Linked DNA regions of Homo sapiens: all the other regions are linked to region 1. The links are contacts of gene promoters, found by promoter capture Hi-C in blood cells and fetal thymus (Javierre and others, 2016). All regions are on one chromosome and are shown on one strand. The core of a region is centred on a gene start or on the middle of the fragment in contact, and the rest is flanking DNA. Distances in the headings are between cores, read along the strand shown. Region 1 holds the start of STAM2 (signal transducing adaptor molecule 2). Region 2 overlaps ARL6IP6 (ARF like GTPase 6 interacting protein 6). Region 3 holds the start of RBM43 (RNA binding motif protein 43).

Region 1 (3,614 bases), core at 896-3,395:
AACTCCCGACCTCCAGTGATTTACCCGCCTCGGCCTCCCAAAGTGCTGGGATTACAGGCGTGAGCCGCTGCGCCTGACCCTTGCTTTGTATTAACGATTTGAAATGAAAAGTTTTAAGATATTAAAAACGTAATATATAATTTTTCTTCTATGATATACGTGCAAGTCCAATTTGAGCTCTTTAGTATTTCATTCTACTTTTTCTAATTCCATTCTCTTGTCCAGAAGTTACAGGAGGGCCTCAAATTCATTCTTTCACCCTTAAAATGCCTTTGGGGTTCTGAATTCAGTCATGCTTAAGCTAATATGTAACTACTTGAAGCTCTGGCTTATGGCACTGGCCATAAAATAATCTAGACACAGTTTTTTTGTTTGTTTGTTTTTTTAATCTCAACAGCAGTGCCTCCTTTACAACTGTAGGACTAAACTGTGATCCACTAAACCAATGCTGGGGCCTCGGGAGCCAGGCAGGGAAAGGTTTAGAACAGAACAGACAGAGCAACTCTGCCTACTTGTACCAGAGAATTTTTCCATCAGAAAACAATGAACTTTCAAGAAAAATTTATATTGAAGAAAAGAATTCACGGTTTTTAAGTTTTAAAATCATTTGTCTAATTCTATTTTGCGCCTTCTGTTTTATTTCATTAGAACAGAATCAAAGTGTTCATAATAGCAATTTTTTAAAAGTACAGGTTGCACAAAGGTTGTATGATTCAAACAAAAGAATACTGCAATGAGGCGTTCCAAAAGGAAACAGTGAGCCTTAAGAGTGATGTTTCCCAGATTTACGCCAGTCACCTGTATTCATCCACCAAAAAAAAAGTTTAATGAAGTAAGGAACATACATATTTGAACTATTTACATATATTATTTGACTCAAACATGTTTTTTAAAATGGCTTAGGGGATTACACAACGTATCAGAATAGGGCACTTTCTACAGTCTCCTAATAACCAAATGTTAACTATGAAACAGGGGAATTACTGCTGAGATGTGCAGTATTCTTCTGAGTCTCCCCGCCCCAACCCCATTTCCAAGTTCTAAAAATTTACCTAGGGTTCTGTTAACTACTGCTACAAAAACAAACAAAAAACAAACCTGTAGTCCCAGCTACTCGGGAAGGGGAAACGGAGGTGGAGGCTGAGGTGGGAGGAATTCTAGTCGCACCTGGGCAACATAGTGAGACCCAGACTTTCGAGAATACATACATATATTTCTCAGTTTGTTTTAGTGTTACTCAAATTTCCTAAATAATTTCGTATATATCTTATCCATGTTTTTCTCATTCTATAGTCACTGAGAGACCAGCGCTTTATGACTGCAACATGTAAAATACTTGTTGTTCTGGAGTGTTTTGAGACTGGAGATTTCCTTTTCATACTCTAAAACCGAACATCTCCTAGCACCCGCGCAATCTTTGCAATCCGGGGATGAAGAGCAACACCTTTACAATTGTAATAAATCTTAAAGCTACCCTATCAGGGATTGAATGCATGAGTAATATAAATAATGGGGAAGTAAGTTCTTCCTATTCAATGCGGTTGTCTAGGTGTCAAGTGTCTAGTGTTGGGCTTCTCTAGACAGCAGGGTCTCCACTGCTGCATCATCTTCAGAAAACGATGGGGCAAAGACGGAGGTAACCAGCTGTCGAACGAGCAGGAAGTTTTTAATCACCAACTCCACAACTACTTAATCAGTCCAGTCTCCAGCGAGCCCTAGGCTCTTCCCAAATCCTACGCTTGGCAAGGAGAACGGCCCTTTGAGGGTCCCCAAACTCAGGCGGCAGGAAGCACTCCCCAGACCGCTAGCGACGCGCCGAGGTTGCCCCAGAAAAATCCCAACGTCGAAGGAGCGGGCGGCACCGCCCCTCCCCTCCCTTCGCTTTGCTTCCTAGTCCCCGGAGTCGCTACCGCCCACTTTCTAGCCGGACAAACAGCAGTCCAGGGCCAGGCACACAGCAGTCCAGGACCGGGCACAGCACTCACCCACGTCTTGCTCGAAGGGGTTGGCGGTGAACAAAGGCATCTCGCCGGCGCCCGAGCCCTAGTCGCTGCTGTCTAGCTGACACTCAGCAACTGCTACCCGCCGGGTGACCCGCGGCCGCGGCTCCCTAGACCGCTCCGCTTCGGCCTCCGTCCCTGCACTTCCGCCACCGCACCTGCCCGGCTCTTGCCTGACAGGCCGGCTCGGAGTCCACCCTTCGATCCCGCGCTCCTGTCCCAACTTTTCTCCCGGGGCGAGATCCCTCCGACCATGGGCGTCCTCCCAAGGCCTTTGTCGCTGCCCCTGTCCCAGACTTTTGTAGGGGTCAGGCGGCCGCTACGGCCACCTTTCCAGCGCTAGGACCCCGGCTAGCCACGAAGCCGGGGACCTTCGGAGCCGGAAGTAGTCCCGCCTGGAACTGGACGACCCCGGAAGCTGCAGTGCCAGCGGCGGCGCGGCAGGGGGCGCGGTTACCCGTGGTTTTTCGCGTTGGACGACGGGCTCTGAGGGCCAAGTTCTTGTCACGAATTTAGTTTGTTTCAGAGCGGCAGGACTCGTAGCTAGAGAACGAGGACCCACGACGCGTACGCGTTACAGTCCTGTTTCCCTAGAAACGGAGCTGCCGGCGCGGAGGTGGCTTTGAGATTCTGCGAAAGACCTGACTGCTCTTCAACAATTATTGTGTTGCACCCTCCCAGGCGCCCAGTCCAAACCCCGTCAGAATAACCACCCGGGACAGCGGTGGTCGAAGTAACTACGCCTAACTTTTCGCTTTCCATCGTGTCCCCTCCATAAAAACACTGCTGGGCCCCCGGAATCCAAAGGCGAAGGAGGCACACTCCCTGCCTTAGACTTGTTGAGAGTTTTATAGGGGCAGTGCATAACGTACATGATGGTGTATGACGATTCGGATGGTAGTACGAGTCATAAACTCAAATTCCAACAGCATCCAGCCAGGTATTTAAATGAATGCAAAAGCCCAAGCACCCTTCCCACCCACATATTCTCTGTTCCTCTTAGAAAACTGTAGTAATGATTATGTTGCCTGTCTCTCCTCCTCATTAGATTATAAACTCCCTGATAAGTTTTGGTCACTACTATATCCCCAGCGTCTAAAACAGTGTCCCAAGTAATAGACGCTCAATGCTTTTCGAATGAAGCTGTAACTTTCTAACTGAACAGTGCGTATCTAAAGATGTCAACTACTGGTAAATTGCAGCCATTTATTGAAATGTGGGTCCTACTAGAGTTTGCAATTTTTCAATGATGTTTAAATGTTGAGAATTACTCCAACATTTTAAATAATAGATTAATCAAAACCATTTTACAAACTCTAGTATAAAGACCTGATGCTATAGAGAGCTCATACACATTCAGAAAGGTGGTTGCATTTTATAAAGTTCGGGGCACAAATGAGAAGGAATCGTGCAGAAGGGGCTGTTTTTCATAGAACGTTGAACCTAGGGATGTTCAAGATAAATTGGGAGGCCGGGCATGGTGGCTCACGCATGTAATCCCAGCACTTTGGGAGGCCAAGGCGGGCAGACTGCTTGAGGCCAGGAGTTCAAGACCAGACTGGCTAACATGGCGAAAAACCGTCTCTACTAAAAATACAAAAATTAGCCAGGCAT
Region 2 (3,610 bases), core at 1,028-3,527, 570 kb after region 1:
ACGTCAGATGATAAAGCAGACATAGTGTCAGAGGTTTTCTTTTCTTAAGGTTTTTTGAGCTGGAAGTCTGACCATGGCCTGCCACAAGTTGCCAGTTATCTTTTCTTGGATAATTGTTATTTATCCTGAGATTTTATCCTTTCTTTTTTTTTTTTTTTTTTTTTTTTGAGGTCTTGCTTTGTTGCCCCAGGCCGAAGTGCAGAGTGGCACAATCATGGCTCACTGCAGCCTCAACTGCCTGGGCTCAAACAACCCTCCTGCCTCCGCCTCCCAAATTGCTGGGACTACAGGCGAGTGCTGCTATGCCTGGCTAAATTTTTTATTTTTATTTTGTAGAGATAGGGTCTCACTAAGTTGCCCAGGACAGTCTTGAACTCCTGAGCTCAAGCAATCCTCCTGGCCTAGTCTCCCAAGGCACTGGGATTACAGGCGTGAGCCACCACGCCCAGCCAACAACTAATTGTTAATATTATCTCATTTAGTTTTAATAAGAACACTAATGAAAGGAATTATTATCCTCATTTTAAAGATTGAGAATTAGATTTTCTGGTAGGTTAAAATAGTTCTGTGACTAGTACAGCCATGACTAAACTCCAGTGAGGAGAGAGCTAGCTTTCCAGGTCTTTCATTCTGATCATATTAAACAATTGAGCTTCCTATTCTCTCCATTGTCTCTTGCTTCTGCGCATACTGTTAGGTGTTTAGAACACTAAATCCCTCATACTCAATTTTAGTTCAGGTATTAGCTCTTCTTTGGAATTTTTTCTCCCCTTCTACAAGCTGAATGGCTCCTTTATGTTCCAGTAATACTGCCTGCAAAACAATCTACTACGTCACAAGATTCTGTTATCTTCGAAGGCAGTACTGACTCCTTACTCATTTCTCTCTCTTTTTTTTTTTCCTTTTTTTGTTGGTTTGAGATAGTCTCACTCTGTCACCCAGGCTGGAGTGCAGTGGCATGATCTTGGCTCACTGCAACCTCCACCCGCTGGGTTCAAGCAATTCTCCTGCCTCAGCCTCCAGAGGAGCTAGGATTACAGGCCACCACACCCAACTAAGTTTTTGTATTTTTAGTAGAGATGGGGTTTCACCATGTTGGCCAGGCTGGTCTCAAACTCCTGGCTTCAAGTGATCCACCCGCCTTGGCCTCCCAAAGTGCTAGGATTGCAGGCGTGAGCCACCATGCCTGGCCAAAATTTTTTTTGTAGAAACAATGTCTCCCTATATGCTCAGGCTGGTCTGGAATCCCTGACCTCAAGCCATCCTCCTGCCTCAGCCTTCCAAAGTGTTGGGATTACTGGCATGAGTCACCGCATCCAGCCCTACTAATTTCTCTATCTCCTGTATGTAATTTAATACCTGATACCGAGTATTCTGTAAATCTTGGTGAATGAAAAGGGAATTGAGAAAGTTATAAAGAACTTTAGAGTAAAAAGTAAGAGGCAAAGTCATGTGTGTTATTTTTTCCTTAAGGAGAGACATAGCAAAGAAGTGAAATTAGGGAAGCATTCTCTTTAAAATTCTAACCCTGATTTCTTAAATAACAATGGTCAAGTTCATTGAAATCAACTTTGTCTGCTCTTCAGCAATTTCTAACAAGTAATTTTTAGGACAAAAGGATATAATAAAGTTAATGTAGTTTTACGTTTCTAAAAAGGAAATGCTTTTTAAGTTAATAAAATACGGTGTTGCTTGTTTTTTTGTTTTGTTTTGTTTTCCAAGTTTCAGGTTTAGTGTTAAGATCTTTTGATTCCAGATAAAGAACTAACTGATAGTAACTCCAAACAAAGCTTATACAGCTTAAAAACTTTTAGCAATTGGAGATTCCTGGGCTAGGGATAGAATGAGAAAACAAAGGCAGCTCAGATGTGTGAAAGGGGAATAGATTAGTACCATCTTGCTCATCCCTTCTCCCTCTGAGCCAATCAGACACAGAAACGAATAGCCAGTTGGGTCTTAAGATGGGCCTTTAACATATCTTCTTATTCTGGCAAGCACAGAGCGCTTTCTGCTTAAAGCAGTATCAGCTGGAAATGAAGTTATTATTTTAAATTACAAGAGTTCTGTCATAAAAGCATCTCTGACATGTGGGAATACCTGTGTGGGAAAGAAAATACAGGAATAAATATGGCATGGAACAATTATTCTAACAGAGTGGAGTCTGGTGTTTAGTATTGTAGTATAGAGATTCAGTTCAGATCAACCAAAACTAGCATAAAAACAATAAACAACCTGAAACATGACAAGAGACCTGCTCAGTTCTGTTATTCTGTCTCTAACTTTTTCTTTTTAAGGTAATTTATTTGGAATTTTTGGAAGTTGCTTATTCAGTGCTTTAATTTATGCTTCAAAATATAAGAATGTAGTCACTTAAATTGCCAAAGTCATTGAATTCATTTGAATCTTATATTTTAAATGTATTCCATTCCTGAAAAATGAAAATAATTATAATTCTTTTATAATATATTCACTTTGCAAGTTACTATTTAATAGTAATCTAAATATATTGCTAGACATTATATTTTCACAGAACAAAGTCTAGATATAAATAATGGAAGTCTGGGTTCTCCAGTGAATTATAAAAGAAGTCGTTATGTAGGAAGAGGGTAATATCAAGCAGAAACACACACACAAAAACACACACACACACACACACACGCACGCACGCGAGAGAGACCTTTAATTCTCCCATTTCTTTCTTCCATCTACTTCTTGGGTTTGCTTTTATACTACTATTGTTTGTTTCTTTGTTTTGGTTTTAAAGCAAGCTTAGGTTTAGGTGTTTTACTTGGAAGGGAGAATCTAAGTAGATGGTCAGAAGAATTTTTAAAAATCTCTTCTGTACCTAAGTTTCTTTACTATATAGCTAAGATGTATTGATCATTTACTATGTGCCAGACACCTGGTATTCACAACAGCTTTGTAAGGGTAGATTCTATTTTTGTTTCCATTGTATGGAGAAGAAAATTGAAGGTCAAAGAGGTCAAACAATGTTGCCATCTTCATACCCCTTGTAAGAGGCAAGGCTGGCACTCAGACCCGTGTTTATCTAATCATAGAGCTTGAACTCTTAACCACTATCAGGGACTACATAAGTACTTCATTGTAGAATTTTTTATTATTGAAAGGAATTCTCTAGAACCAGAAAAAGGTCATACCTTCTATATAGCTTATCTTTCAGGATATGGAAGTAGATCTAAAGAAACGTTCTGGTTTTGCCATTGGGTACTCTATTTTACTACTTATTCTTTCATATGGTCAAATGAAGAGTCACATCTTAACAATGTTGATTTAGCAGGTTAAATTATATCCATTAATTTTCATCATAGATAGGTCTCCTTAATTGACTCTTTGGGACTAAAATATTTATATCCTCTGCATCATTGTTCTAGTTTTAAGTACAGGTAATGTTGACCAATAACCTGTTTTAATAGGTAAAAAACTGTACATAATCTTTTTGAGGTGTTTTTTAGGATTATTTCTTGCTACCTGGGATACTTACAGAAATGTAGAACTGAGACCGAGCGCAGTGGCTCACGCCTGTATCCCAGCACTTTGGGAGTGCTGGGTGGATCACCTGAGGTTAGGAGTTCCAGACCAGCCTGGCCAA
Region 3 (3,956 bases), core at 1,236-3,735, 910 kb before region 1:
GTTCACGGCTGTAATCCCAACACTTTGGGAAGATGAGGTGGGCAGATCACTTGAAGTCAGGAGTTCGAGATCAGCCTGGCCAACATAGTGAAACGCCATCTCTACTAAAAATACAAAAATTAGTGGAGGCAGGCGCCTGTAATCCCAGCTACTCCAGAGGCTGAGGAACCAGAATGGCTGGAACACAGGAGGTGGAGGTTGCAGTGAGCCAAGATCGCACCACTGCACTCCAGCCTGGGTGACAGAGTGAGACTCTGTCTCAAAAAAAATAAAAATAAAAACATTGAAAATTTAAATATGGTTACAAAAAAACAGAAATGCTCAACCCTGTCAATGTAAGAATAAAGGCAGGGCCATCATATCAGAAAGCAAAAAAGGCATAAAGAAAAACTTTATTTTTCTAAGTGAAGCACTAGGGAGAAATAGAAGATTCACTCACTGCATTTGTTTTTATTTCTTTTGGGAGATCTTTTTCTTTTCTTGTTTTTTGTTTGTTTGTTTGTTTTGAGATGGAGTCTAGCTCTGTCACCTACGCTGGAGTGCAGTGGCGCGATCTTGGCTCACTGCAACCTCCACCTCCCGGGTTCAAGCGATTCTCCTGCCCCAGCCTCCTGAGTAGCTGGGACTACAGGCATCAGCCACCATGCCCGACTAATTTTTGTATTTTTAGTAGAGATGGGGTTTCACCATGTTGACCAGGCTGGTCTCAAACTCCTGACCTCGTGATCCGCTCCCCCCTCGGCCTCTCGAAGTCTTTTTTTTTTTTTAGACAGCGCCTCGCTCTGTTGCCCAGGCTGGAGAACAATGGCGTGATCTTGGCTCCCTGCAACCTCCGCCTCCTGGGCTCAAGTGATCCTCCCACCTCAGCCTCCCCAGTAGCTGAGACTACAGGTGGATGCCATCACGCCCAGCTAATTTTTGTATTTTTAGTAGAGACTCCTGACCTCAAGTGATCCGCCCTCCTTCGCCTCCCAAAGTGCTGGGATTACAGGCGTGAGCCACCGTGCCGGGCAGGGAGATCATTTTCTGCACCCCAACAATATCAAAGAAAAACATGCAATCAATTTAAACTCAGGAAATCTTACTTCAGCTCTATGCCCTCATTAGTACTAATACCATATTTCTTTATTCGAATGTCTACTGGTAATTTATCTTTAAAATCAAAGAAACTTCTCCCTGAACCAGTATTTTTAGAAGAAAAAAACATAAAGATGTAAATTTTGTTTGGTAAGAACTAGTTTCTATGAATCATCTAATGAATTAGTACTTCAATGACTTGCCAATATTTGTCCTTAACTCCCTTTCATAGGTTGGAGAAAGTATGGCTAACATAGATAATTTTACTGAGGTCAATTATGAATAATGAGGGTTGTTCATCTCTTCTACCCACGATTAAGATAAAGAAATGCCTAGAGAAAGACAGTCCTTTCAAGGACTTTGAAACGAGCAGCTTTTAGCCAAGACATACTAACGTGATGGCGCATTTCCTTGCATCAGTATTGTGTTATAACAGACTTGGCCATCTTATCAGAAAGCAAAAAGTATATAGCAAAACTTTACTTTTGTAAGTAAGGCATTGGGAAGAAACAGAAGATTCATTGACTGCATTTGTTTATATTGATTTTCTCAAAATCAGTTGTTTATTTTCAATGACGACGCCTCTACCGCCACCAGGTCAACAAAAACGTACTTGCTTTTGCATTTCCGGGACTCTAGCATTTCAGAGCAGGAATTAAAGGCCTTGCCAAGGCTTTTAAGCGATTGATGGAAACAAAACAAAACACAGAAGGATAAATTTTGAATTTGCTAAGACAAGAATTCGCACCAAGGCAGACATAAGACATGAGGATGTCTTCCTGACTTGCGTCCTTGGCTCGAATCGTTCTTATTAGCCCTTTTCAAAAGGCAGCTGTGACCTCCATTTCTGGCTAATCAGGCCACTTTTGTTCCCCCCGAGGCGTGGGAGGACAACAGTTAAGCCCTAACAGCCTGCGAAGCAGCTCCTCGACGAACGGCGGCGTCCCCGTCGCCTGGGCAGTGGGTGTGGGAGGTGACAGCCTAGTCCTGAGCCTCTGGAGCGGGCCTATACTGCACCGCCGTACGTGAATTTCAGGAGCGCGCAATGCCGCCACCTGGGAAGGGTGCAGCGAGGCTGACCTGAGTTTGCCCGCCGGGGTGGACGGCTCTCCGGGGCCCCCGGGGTCCCTGGGGCCCCTCCGTGCGCCGCCCCCTCCCGCGCAGCCCTGCACCCTGGCCCGTCGCGCCCGGTTCCGCGCCCTTCTAGGGGACCATGGCGACGGTACAGGCACGGACCTGCACCGCAAAACCCAAAGCAAAAGCAACTTGCCATGGCGGAGGGGAGACGCGCCCTCAGCGGCCGCAGAAAGCCCACAACCAGCGGAACGCAGGCGATGGGGAGAGGAGCGAGCAGGCAGGTTTTGGTTTCGTTTTTTGTTCCAGCTCCCTTGGAGGCTACGAAGAAAAGGGCGGTCCTTCCACCCGATCCGGCTGTTCTGCGACCTCGTGGCCTCTGAGTGGGAGCTCGGACTCAGGAGTGCTGTTGCCAGCGCCTGCCCAGACGCCCTCCGTAGTTTTGCAACTTGTGGAAGCACTCTGGAGAGAGGCCGAGAGGATTCCTCGACAGGAAATTTGGGAATTCTCTGGGTGATGCATCAGTGATTGCAATTTTGTTTTTACCCGTTTTGCTAAGCAGCAGCAACAACGGCAGAGTTGATTTAAAAAAAGAAAAAACGCAAAAAGGGAAAACACATAGTAGGTGGTGGCCGCTTCCTGTGTTGATACTGGGGGGCTACGCTTTTCCTAACATCAATCATCTCGTAGTTGCAGAGAGCCCTAGATGTCATGATAGTTTTGAATCGCATGCATTATCATGTAAGGGAGTTAAATATCTTGCATGCATGCTCTCTTCTGTGTTTATATATTCGATGCCATGAAATTGAAGGGCATGTGGCTAAAACCTTTTTACTACATGAAACTTTACAACACTTTTGAAAACATTTCAATTTGGTTGATGCGCACTGTAATATTTCTCCAGATAACTGTCCAAAATTTTCCATGGAGAAGGCTTTTATCCTCATTAGTTGCTGGCCTCAAACTAACCATCTAGGATATTAAACTTCTGCCAGAATTTTACATCCAGCTACCTTTACTTTTTAGAACGTATTCTCTATCATGTTATTGATATCAATTTCTACTTCACACAGATGGTTTTTTACAACAGCAAATCAAGTTTTTCTAACATCAGTTTTAAAAAGCCCTGCACTCAGTGAAATCTGGATGTCTTTCCTACGCCCTTATTATCTGTCCAGACTTCTTCCCCTTCCCCCACCGCTCACCTGGGCCTTTTCCTCTGCACAACCTACCCCAGTTCCCCAACCCCCACCTCAACCCCCAACGCCGTGTTGGTCACCTTCCCAGCCCAGACCAGGAGCCCTCTTGGACCTCTGCCGGGTGCTAAGGACACAGGATGAGAGCGCCAGGTCCCTGCCAGCAGAGAGCTCACCACCTTGTCCATGCCTTAGCACAGGAACCCCGAATGGCGCCTGTGGGGACACAGGGAATCTCTGGACAAACTTCAAAATCAAATCAATGAATGCATGAAGAACAAAGGTAGATGGCTAGCAGATATGAAGAAACCCAATCCCACTCCTAAGAAATGTAAATTGAAATAATAAGATACCATTTTTCACAACTAGATCTGCAAAACCAGAAAGTGTTAGCCTGAATGTAAGCATCAGAGTTGCTGCAAGCATAGATGGATGCAAATACTTCTAAAGATTTTTATCAAAATGTAAAGTGCAAAAAAATGTAAAATGCACATATTCTTAGTCTCAGCAATTCTACTTTTAGAACTGAACTTGAAGTTATAGTGCGCAAATGGCACTAAGATATTGTATAGAAATTTTAGTTGTACATTGCTTGAAATACAGGTAGTA

What was found. The method cuts DNA at HindIII sites, captures the fragments that hold promoters and counts their contacts. A CHiCAGO score of 5 or more calls a contact.
Region 2: a contact is called between a fragment that was not itself captured here and the fragment with the promoter of STAM2 in region 1, in 8 of 17 cell types (non-activated CD4 T cells, total CD4 T cells, neutrophils and 5 more). The highest score is 9.3, in non-activated CD4 T cells.
Region 3: a contact is called between the fragment with the promoter of RBM43 here and the fragment with the promoter of STAM2 in region 1, in 1 of 17 cell types (non-activated CD4 T cells). The highest score is 5.2, in non-activated CD4 T cells.

Annotation. Positions count from the first base shown.
Region 1 is chr2:152,173,618-152,177,231 of GRCh38, forward strand. STAM2 (signal transducing adaptor molecule 2) reads right to left here and starts at 2,146. Exons shown (of 14, transcript NM_005843.6): 1 at 1,986-2,146. The coding sequence starts at 2,025. LOC105373689 (a long non-coding RNA gene) reads left to right here and starts at 1,916. Exons shown (of 3, transcript XR_923477.3): 1 at 1,916-2,940. RefSeq lists enhancers at 1,684-1,733, 1,784-1,923, 2,084-2,607, 2,084-2,503. The HindIII fragment of the contact is 5,938 bases long and covers 1-3,614 here.
Region 2 is chr2:152,746,679-152,750,288 of GRCh38, forward strand. All of the region lies in intron 3 of ARL6IP6 (ARF like GTPase 6 interacting protein 6), which reads left to right. Among named protein-coding and RNA genes, the nearest start is that of ARL6IP6, 30 kb to the left of the region's middle. The HindIII fragment of the contact is 978 bases long and covers 1,789-2,766 here.
Region 3 is chr2:151,259,378-151,263,333 of GRCh38, forward strand. RBM43 (RNA binding motif protein 43) reads right to left here and starts at 2,486. Exons shown (of 4, transcript NM_198557.3): 1 at 2,348-2,486. The coding sequence starts at 2,350. RefSeq lists a silencer at 2,030-2,299 and an enhancer at 2,340-2,569. The HindIII fragment of the contact is 8,034 bases long and covers 1-3,956 here.